Linked DNA regions of Homo sapiens: region 1 is linked to region 2. The links are contacts of gene promoters, found by promoter capture Hi-C in human tissues and cell types (Jung and others, 2019). All regions are on one chromosome and are shown on one strand. Each heading gives the region's core, a stretch centred on a gene start or on the middle of the fragment in contact. The rest is flanking DNA. Distances are from core to core; before and after follow the strand shown.

Evidence for each region. The method cuts DNA at HindIII sites, captures the fragments that hold promoters and counts their contacts. A contact is called where the count stands out against the background at its distance.
Region 1: a fragment that was not itself captured here is called in contact with the fragment with the promoter of CPLX4 in region 2 in 2 of the 25 tissues and cell types used here (IMR-90 fibroblasts and neural progenitor cells).

Annotation. Positions count from the first base shown.
Region 1 is chr18:59,419,831-59,424,062 of GRCh38, reverse strand. No RefSeq gene overlaps it. Among named protein-coding and RNA genes, the nearest start is that of LMAN1, 63 kb to the right of the region's middle. The HindIII fragment of the contact is 4,792 bases long and covers 1-4,232 here.
Region 2 is chr18:59,316,476-59,320,715 of GRCh38, reverse strand. It overlaps CPLX4 (complexin 4), which reads left to right and starts at 2,067. Exons shown (of 3, transcript NM_181654.4): 1 at 2,067-2,420. The coding sequence starts at 2,254. The HindIII fragment of the contact is 6,963 bases long and covers 1-4,240 here.

The DNA.
Region 1 (4,232 bases), core at 733-3,232, 100 kb before region 2:
TAACATGTTAGCAGGCAACAAGTTGATAGCTGCTACAGGGGAAGAAGATGTCTGGAGGGAGATTCTGGGTAGGGAGACTGGGAAGGTGACTCCCTCCCCAGCATGGGCCCTGGCCTTGCCTCAAGTTGCTAATATTTTGGAGGCTGGTTCCCCAGGTGGGAGGGCAGAAATGACGTCCATGCAGCACGTTGACCCAGGTAAGCTTCATTCACCTGTTCCCGCATGGTGTCGCTTTCACCAGCATCCCCAGGCGATTCAGGGACTCCTGATTCTCATCGATTCTGGCGAAGTGACAACTTATGTGCTGAATCCGCACTTCTCCTCCAGCCTGTTTTCTGTGGCTTCTTATCCTCTTCTGTCTGTAGCATCACAACCACACTGGGGATGAGAGCTGGGTGGGAAAAATGATTAAATCAGAGGCAGAGTTGTATCTATAGTCATTTTTTGCTTTACAAATAGTTTTTGTGATGTATGTGGACAGAACAGTTTCCAAAGTCAAGTTTTGTTGGGTTTAAAAAAAATGTAACCCATGGACGTTCTTGGCTGTGTTCCCCACCACCCCCTCACAGTAACGTAATCTGCTGGATCTGCCCCAACCCATCTTGGACATGGCTATAGACCTTTTTACCCCAGGGCTCTGGAGATGATACACAGAATCTTACTAACTGCCATCATACCATGTAATTGCAGGACCATGTAATGTGAAAGGAACACTTCTCCCATGTACTGACAGGGTCATTTATTTACAGTTCTGTAAAACTCTCAGCCAAAACCAGCAGATCATATACACAACTACTCATAGGCGGGTAATTTGCCTTCTGGAAAAGAAAAAGGTGCACAAATCGAATTAGGCTCAGATTATTCAGAAAGGAAATAACAGCTGGAAAACATTTCAAAAAGTGGTCCCTTCAAAAGAGCCTTCCAAGAATACCAGCCAAATACATTTTTCCTTCAGGGCTTATTCTATGTGGCTATTGACCACTGAGATCCAATACTACCAGCCAGATTGACACAGACTTTGCATGTCAATATTCACATGAAGTGGGATGAAGGTCTTTGGGTTGCTGAGATTATGTGTGTTCCAAATAAATGAAGTTAGCCCCCAGGTATTTATTGGCTTTTCCAGCTACATAGGCACCTTTCTACCAAGGATAAAATCTGTGATCTGTGTAGAGAACTTTTCTTGCTAAGTCTTTGTGGAGTAATCAGCAACTTCATTGCATCTAAGCCTTCCTCTGCTAATCCCGTGATTACTGGACTCACAGTTTCACCTTGGTAGCTTATCTGTGGTCAGATGGTACTGGGGGCTGCTGCTATACTACCCTCACCCCACACACACACACTTATCTTGCAAAGAGGTACACAGGCATCCCTCCCTCAGGCACTTCAGTTTCTTTCATGCCTTTTACTTGATTCCAGAAGTCCCCACTGAGGCCAAGAAATCTGAGTACTATTCTCAGGAGAAATTTGCTCTGGGGTCCCTCGGGGATAAAAGGATGGTGTGAGGGATCCTGGCTGCATGGAAGGGGCCTGAGGAAACTTGTTGCAATTGACAATCCTTCCAGTGTCTGCCTCAAGTCTGAAATTCTCACCACGCATTCCACTGCTTAGGTACCATTCACTCAGGTTACAGCTTTCAGTTACAAGAGTAGGTTCATCCATTAACCAGCAGGTACATGGAGAAGTTAGTCACTTGACTCCATATTAAGGCCCAAACAAAGCAATTTTGAGGGAATATGTGAAATATAATGAGGAGGAAGATAGAATTAATCTCAGAGCTAAACTTGGGCATAGCTAGATTCCAGGGAAGAGGGTGGAATTGTAAAATAAGCTGAAACAACCCAGGAGCTTTGTTCTCTCAAAAGCACCTTCTCCTGTAATACAATGAATGGTCTCTCCACCACCATCATTGTGAATTTCATGGTTTTTGAGTCACTTCCATTACTAGCTGGGTGACCCTCGCATCATACTAGGGAACATGAAGACGTGAATTCCACCTCATTTGGAACAGTTTGGATCAGGGCTGTGTCCAGGTAGGAGCTAGCTGTACCAGGGGCTTCCCCATTTCCCACTCCTTTCTGACTTCAAAGACAGGGTCCTTGCTTTCTCCCAAATGGAATCTGGAGGTTTTATTTGTAGGCAGTTGTGCCAATCTGTCTCCTACCCTTAGTCACAAACTACTTAAGGACAAGAGTTAACTATCTTCATAGTTGCTGGAGACCTACAGCAGTACTTGGTGCATATTAAGTGCTCAGAAGATGTTAACAGAAAGCAAGCGGTTGCTAAAGATACAGCCACCAGTGGCCCTCAGTTACTTCCATTCACTTAGTTATTTAACAGATATGTATTGAATGCTCTCATATACTATGGTCAGCACTTGTCCCTGTCTTAATGGGATTGTACATTTATTTATACATAGATTATAATCTAGTGAATGAAGTCACAGATCTGTACTGGTACATACTGAAGCCCCATCTCCTTTTTATTTCTTTTTCCTTACAGAAGTTTGCTGAGCAATCTTTATTTTACAATTTGCAACTGGATTCTTCATCCTTGATACCCCCTATTCTGGTTTTTACCCTTCTTAAGGAAAAGCAAGTGACTTTGCATACTGGCCAATAAGAGACAGCCTCTAATAGGTCTCCTATTCCCTCCTCTACGCTCAGTATCTATGAGCGTAGATATGTGGGTTTCACAACCTGCAAGTCCTGCCCAGGAAGTGGAATTTTCCTATTGAACCAAAATTGTGTTTTAGACTCAAAGCTGAGGGCAAAATGCACTAGGCATCCCCATGTTCTTTTTTTTTTTTCTTTTTGAGACGGAGTCTTGCTCTGTCACTAGGCTGGAGTGCAGTGGCACGATCTTGGCTCACTGAAACCTCCGTCTCCCGTTCAAGCGATTCCCCTGCCTTAGCCTCCTGAGTAGCTGGGAATACAGGTGTGCGCCACCACACCCAGCTAAGTTTTTGTATTTTAGTAGAGACTGGGTTTCACCATTTTGTTCAGGATGGTATCAATCTCCTGACCTCATGATCCACCCACTTCGGCCTCCCAAAGTGCTGGGATTACAGGCGTGAGCCACTGTGCCCAGCCAGCATCCCCATGTTCTTAAGTGAGCATCATCAAATAGTTTGAGAGCTGCCACCTCCCCAGGGAGCTTAGTGAGCAGCTCCTGTTCAGAACTGTGCCTCTCCCACCTGACCCCAGCTGTGGGAGAAGAGGACCGGGTTGAGGGAGATGTAGACAGCCTTACAGAAAATACAGTATTCTTGATGACAAGTCTGTCCCTACTTAGAGTGTGGCTAGGGGAGAGGTACCCATCCCTAAAGCCAAGTGAGAGGGGGCTCCAAAAGTTTACTCATAACAACTTGGGGTGCCTTAATAATGTAAGAGGGCAGCATGTTCTCTGGCTGGATGTGTGCCAGGTCTATGTTGTTTGCCCCTGAAGCAAGACCTGCCACAAGCATTCTTGGGAGGATGATCCAAGAGTCTCCTCTTCACTAGACCTCCCCATGACCATGGGGAAGGAGAAAGGCGTGCTTGGCATGTGTGCCCTGAAAAGACGGGACATACTTATTCATAGAGATAACACTTGTTCCGATGAAGTCAGAGGCCTGGTGGGAGTAGCCTCTTTCACAGGGCTTCAAGGGATTGTGGATATTGTGCCTGAGAGGAAGGTGAGGCAACCATCTACTCCCTGATGTGTGAAAATGAAGGAACACAGAGGGGAAAGGAGAGGCAGGGACCCAATGCCAGGGACCGTTCCTTACTCTGATGTGTGCACAGCCACCAAAGCTGGCCCTTTTCTTCCAGCCTCTTGCCATCCCTCTAAAAGCTTGAATTAGCAGAGGCAGTTAAGCAGGAGGTAGAGGAGTGTCAGAACCAGACCTTTGCTTCCTTCCAAACAGCCAGGCCCACAGCCCCAGCCCCCCTGGGGTTGGGAGCAGGGAAGAGCCAAGCTTTAAATCAAGTTCAAGGCTCAGGTTCTAATAATGAACAGGTCTTGGTCTTAAATCTCAAAGGTGCCTAGAAAGTTAAAATTTGGGCAGGATTTCATGAAGGGAGCCACAGCCAAAAAAGAGAGGGTGAATTCATCAAAAGTTAAATCCGGTTTTGATGCCCAACTCATTTACACTGTTCAGTAAATCAGTTAGGGATGAGATGCATTTTTTTAAACTAGGACTTTCAAGTCTACATTATAGTGACTTGGGGTTTTACTTCAATTATTTTTAT
Region 2 (4,240 bases), core at 818-3,317:
ATTCATGAATCCAGGGCATTCATTTCCCCTTTCTGAAGGAACGGAAGATTCTACCACCATTTCTACAAGATTCTACAGCCAGGCTTGGTGGCTCACACTTATAATCCCACCACTTTGAGAAACTGAGGCAGGCAGATCACTTGAGGTCAGGAGTTCAAGACCAGCCTGGCCAATATGGCAAAACCCTGTCTCTACCAAAAATACAAAAGCTTAGCCGGGCATGGTGGCGCATGCCTGTAATCCTAGGTACTCGGGAGACTAAGGCAGGAGACTCGCTTGAACCCAGGAGGCGGAGGTTGCAGAGAGCTGAGATCCTGCCACTGCACTACAGCCTGGGCAACACAGTGAGGCTGTCTCCAAAAAAAAAGATCCTACACACCAGCTAGTAGTTCCTGGATGTCCAAGGGCAAAGGTCATTGTAATAAATCAAGGAGTAAAAAGTTTTTTAAGTCGTGACCTCATTCTCAATGGAATTACCTGTTGAGGAAATAATAAGATATTTGATTTCATAAAGCACTCTCAGGAGACCTTCCACGGCGACCCTGCTGAAGCTACCACCGAAGAGTCCCCATAATGCATGACACCCCCTCTTCCTAACCCCCTCCACACAAACATACATTCAGAAAAGGACGGGACAGGGAGAAACTCCTTTACACATGGGTGCTGGAGTTTAGAATTGACACCCTCACCATTAATATTTCCTAATTCCTCATACAATGGAATTTTTAGAATAGATTTTATAATAAATCTAAATAATTACTTATAATAAAATGTAGACCGAACAGACAGAAACACAAGGCTGTGGCTTTTATTTTATGGTTTGAAAAGTTCTATGAGACAACATTAATTAGTAACATTCCTCAGTGGACTGCAATGTAGTTTATTATAAATGGTAATTTAGAGATAATGGTATGAACGTGTTAAGTTCCAAGCAACCCATCTAAAAGAGAAAGTGGAACTCAATATTGATGGGCATTCTCCTCGAAGCCCTGAGTACAGCTTATATTTCACCCTAAATTATCTTTTTTAGCCTTTCATATTGAGACCATTTAAGCAGCATTTTAAAATAGATTACTAAAAGGGAAAGCAGACGATAAAATATATAAAGCAAGCATTTTAGGCAAGAATCCAGATTATGTAATTCTATATGATCAGAGAGATAATCACCTGGTTTCTGAGAGGACTCATGCCTTCAGATAAAATAACAATGGATTACATCTCTTCCTTCCCACCCCACCCTCTTTGGCAGGCTTTAATTAGAAAGATACTAGTGTAGATTGAAGTCTTAGCCATACTCAACTCTTCCCTTGACCTGAAGAAAACCACAGCCATAGAGAATCTGGTGGGATACAAAACATTGTCAGTTTCATCCAAGTACACCAGTGAGCTTAAATAGAGCACCCAGGAGGTGCACTCTTTATGCAAGAGAAAAAAGGTGACCCCTTACATATTGATGATTTGACTCACATAATGGTCTTACCTTCTGGATCAGAGCCTTGAAGTGTCAAGCACATCATTTCCATATAGACAAGTAATATTTCCATGCAGGAGAAGGCTAAGATAATCTTCCAGATGTAAACCAAGGACCTGCTGTCTGGGTCTTTGCATTTGTCAGTTGTGTATTTATGTGCGGGACACAGTAACTATTGAAGCAAACCGAATTCAAGCAAACTAAAAAGCAAATCCTTGCATAGTACTTAAAGTCCAATGAGATAAAATGATGGATCGAAAGGATTATTTTTGCTTAATGAAGCATTCTGGGTTTTGAGTCTCATTGGACTCAGTTTTTCAACAGGATGTTTTGCTCAAGGGCTGGAATTTGGAAATTCCACAACAGCTATATAATCAGTCAGCTCTGATTAATTTAATTGAAACAGGACTCTTGATGAAGCCCTGCTGTGCTTATAATTAAAAATTTAGAAAGGGGTAGATGATGTGGGGATTTCTTTTTCCTGTGAAATTAGCTGAGTGTATTAATTCAGAAGGTAGGCAGTTGCCTCTGATTGTATGCTTCGGTAATCTGAACCATCTGCCTCTATATACTAAGGAGTTCACCACTTTAATCCAGCTTACGGCCGACAAACCACTCTTCTCTATCAGTATGCCCTTGAATAGATGAGGTTGTGCAAAGTCCTTTGCTCTTAAATGTATTGCTGTCATTGAGAATATTTGGAGGTTTTCTCTTGGGTTTGTTTGGATTTTTTTTTTCAGCTTTTGTCTGAATTTTGGTTTTATTTTTCTGGGGCAGAGAAAATGGCTTTCCTTATGAAAAGTATGATAAGTAACCAGGTAAAGAATTTAGGATTTGGTGGTGGGTCTGAAGAAAATAAAGAAGAAGGAGGTGCATCTGATCCTGCAGCAGCTCAAGGGATGACTAGAGAGGAGTATGAGGAGTATCAAAAGCAAATGATTGAGGAGAAGTGAGTACATGCTATTTCATTTCCCTTAAAAAGCAAAGGAAATTCATTCTGGCCATACCTTCTTCAGTTCTCCAGTTTATTTCTCTTTGCTTTTTAAGATGCCTTTCCTTTTGCCGTTTACCTCTAACCCAAGGAAAGGTTGTTCTTCTAAAGTAAACGGTTCCCTAACATCAGCAGCTACTATGTTCTATGTTCTACATGTATGAATGGAAATGAACAATAATAAATGAATCTATATGTTGTTCTTAAAGCAGCTTAACACTTTCTGGTCTAGGCATGTTTTGATTGACCTCAATTTAATTATTTAGATGAAAAGTGGTAGGTTTAACTATCTTTACATTCTTTCTAAACTTCACCCTCTTAGCACGTAGAAAGTCTTCAAATTGTAAGAATTCAGACCTTATACCTAGAAAAGGGCCTAAAATAACATAGAGGGCAGCTTCTTTGATCTTGCATGTGAGAAAAAAAAAAAAAACCCAGGAAGCATAACATGACAATTATGTCATAAGACTTGGCTTATCAAAGACTATGAATGGATTTGTGGACTGTTTAATATGGAAATTCTAAACATACAGAAAAGTAGAATAGTAGGACAAATACCCACATATACCTATGACATAAAATCAACAGCTTACAGTTTGCTACATTTGCTTAAAGATTAAAAAGATAGATGGTAGATAATAGCTTTTAAAGTAAATTACAGATGTCATGTACTTCACCCCCAAATACTTCAGCCACCTTCCTCCAAAAAATAAAGGCATTTTCTTGGCTATATAAAATATAACAAAAATAAAATATAAAATATAAGCAACATTTAATTGGGTATTATAGAATGTGAATATCACCAACAACTTTTCACCACTTGAAGACTGATTCTGAAATAAATGTAATCTCTGTGTAATTTTTAAATGTTTAAGGTAGAATTAAGATTCTTTTAATAATCAGTTAAGAAATGAAACATCAATCTAGAGGTTAAATGTTTATCATATGTTTCAAAAGAAAAGTATTTCTTTTTTGCCACCAGGACTCTTTTGCTAATGATCAATTACATAATAGTTGCCTAAATCCTATCGCTAAGATGATTATAGGTGAAAAGGTTAATGACCTGGAGGAAACAAAGAAAGTACAAAGACTACGTTTAGTGGAAACCTTGTCTATTGTATTTTTCTGAAAGAAATCATGGCTTATAGACTACCTAGAATACATTATGCTTGGTTCTGCAGTAACTTAAAGTTGGTTTTTAAAAAACAGTCAATGCAACTAGCAAAAATGATGGTGCTAAGACTTGGGCAAAAGAAGCAGCATTCCTTGAATATTGGCTGATTTTACCTATGGCATGCAAAAGAACAAAAAGCTTAAAAGCAAAATAAGTACTGTGTAATGAAGGATAGAAGACAAAAATCAGCATCAAACATTCTCAGATCAAGTAGGCTAATGAAAACAGAAATGTAGACTACAGTTGTGAGCATGCAAAATATCACCTAATATGTTCAAGCAGCAGATCCGATTGCAGATAAGGCATCTATTTGATTAACTAATGTCCTAGTTTTCCTTAATTTTATATCTGGACAGATCAAAGCTCAAAATGGCCAAATCATACAGTCAATCAGCAGACTGAGTTGTCAGCTACTCAGCTTTTTGCATATGTGTGTGAGAATATTATATATTTATGTAGTCACTCAATGTAAGAAATAGTGTCAGGACAATGGAGCATTTGGCTTCCCTATGATAAAGAGGGATGACTTTCAGTCCATTGTTTGAGTTTTCAAGAATTTCACCACCTAGAATGCAATATGTAGTAGGCATTAAAAATAATTCAT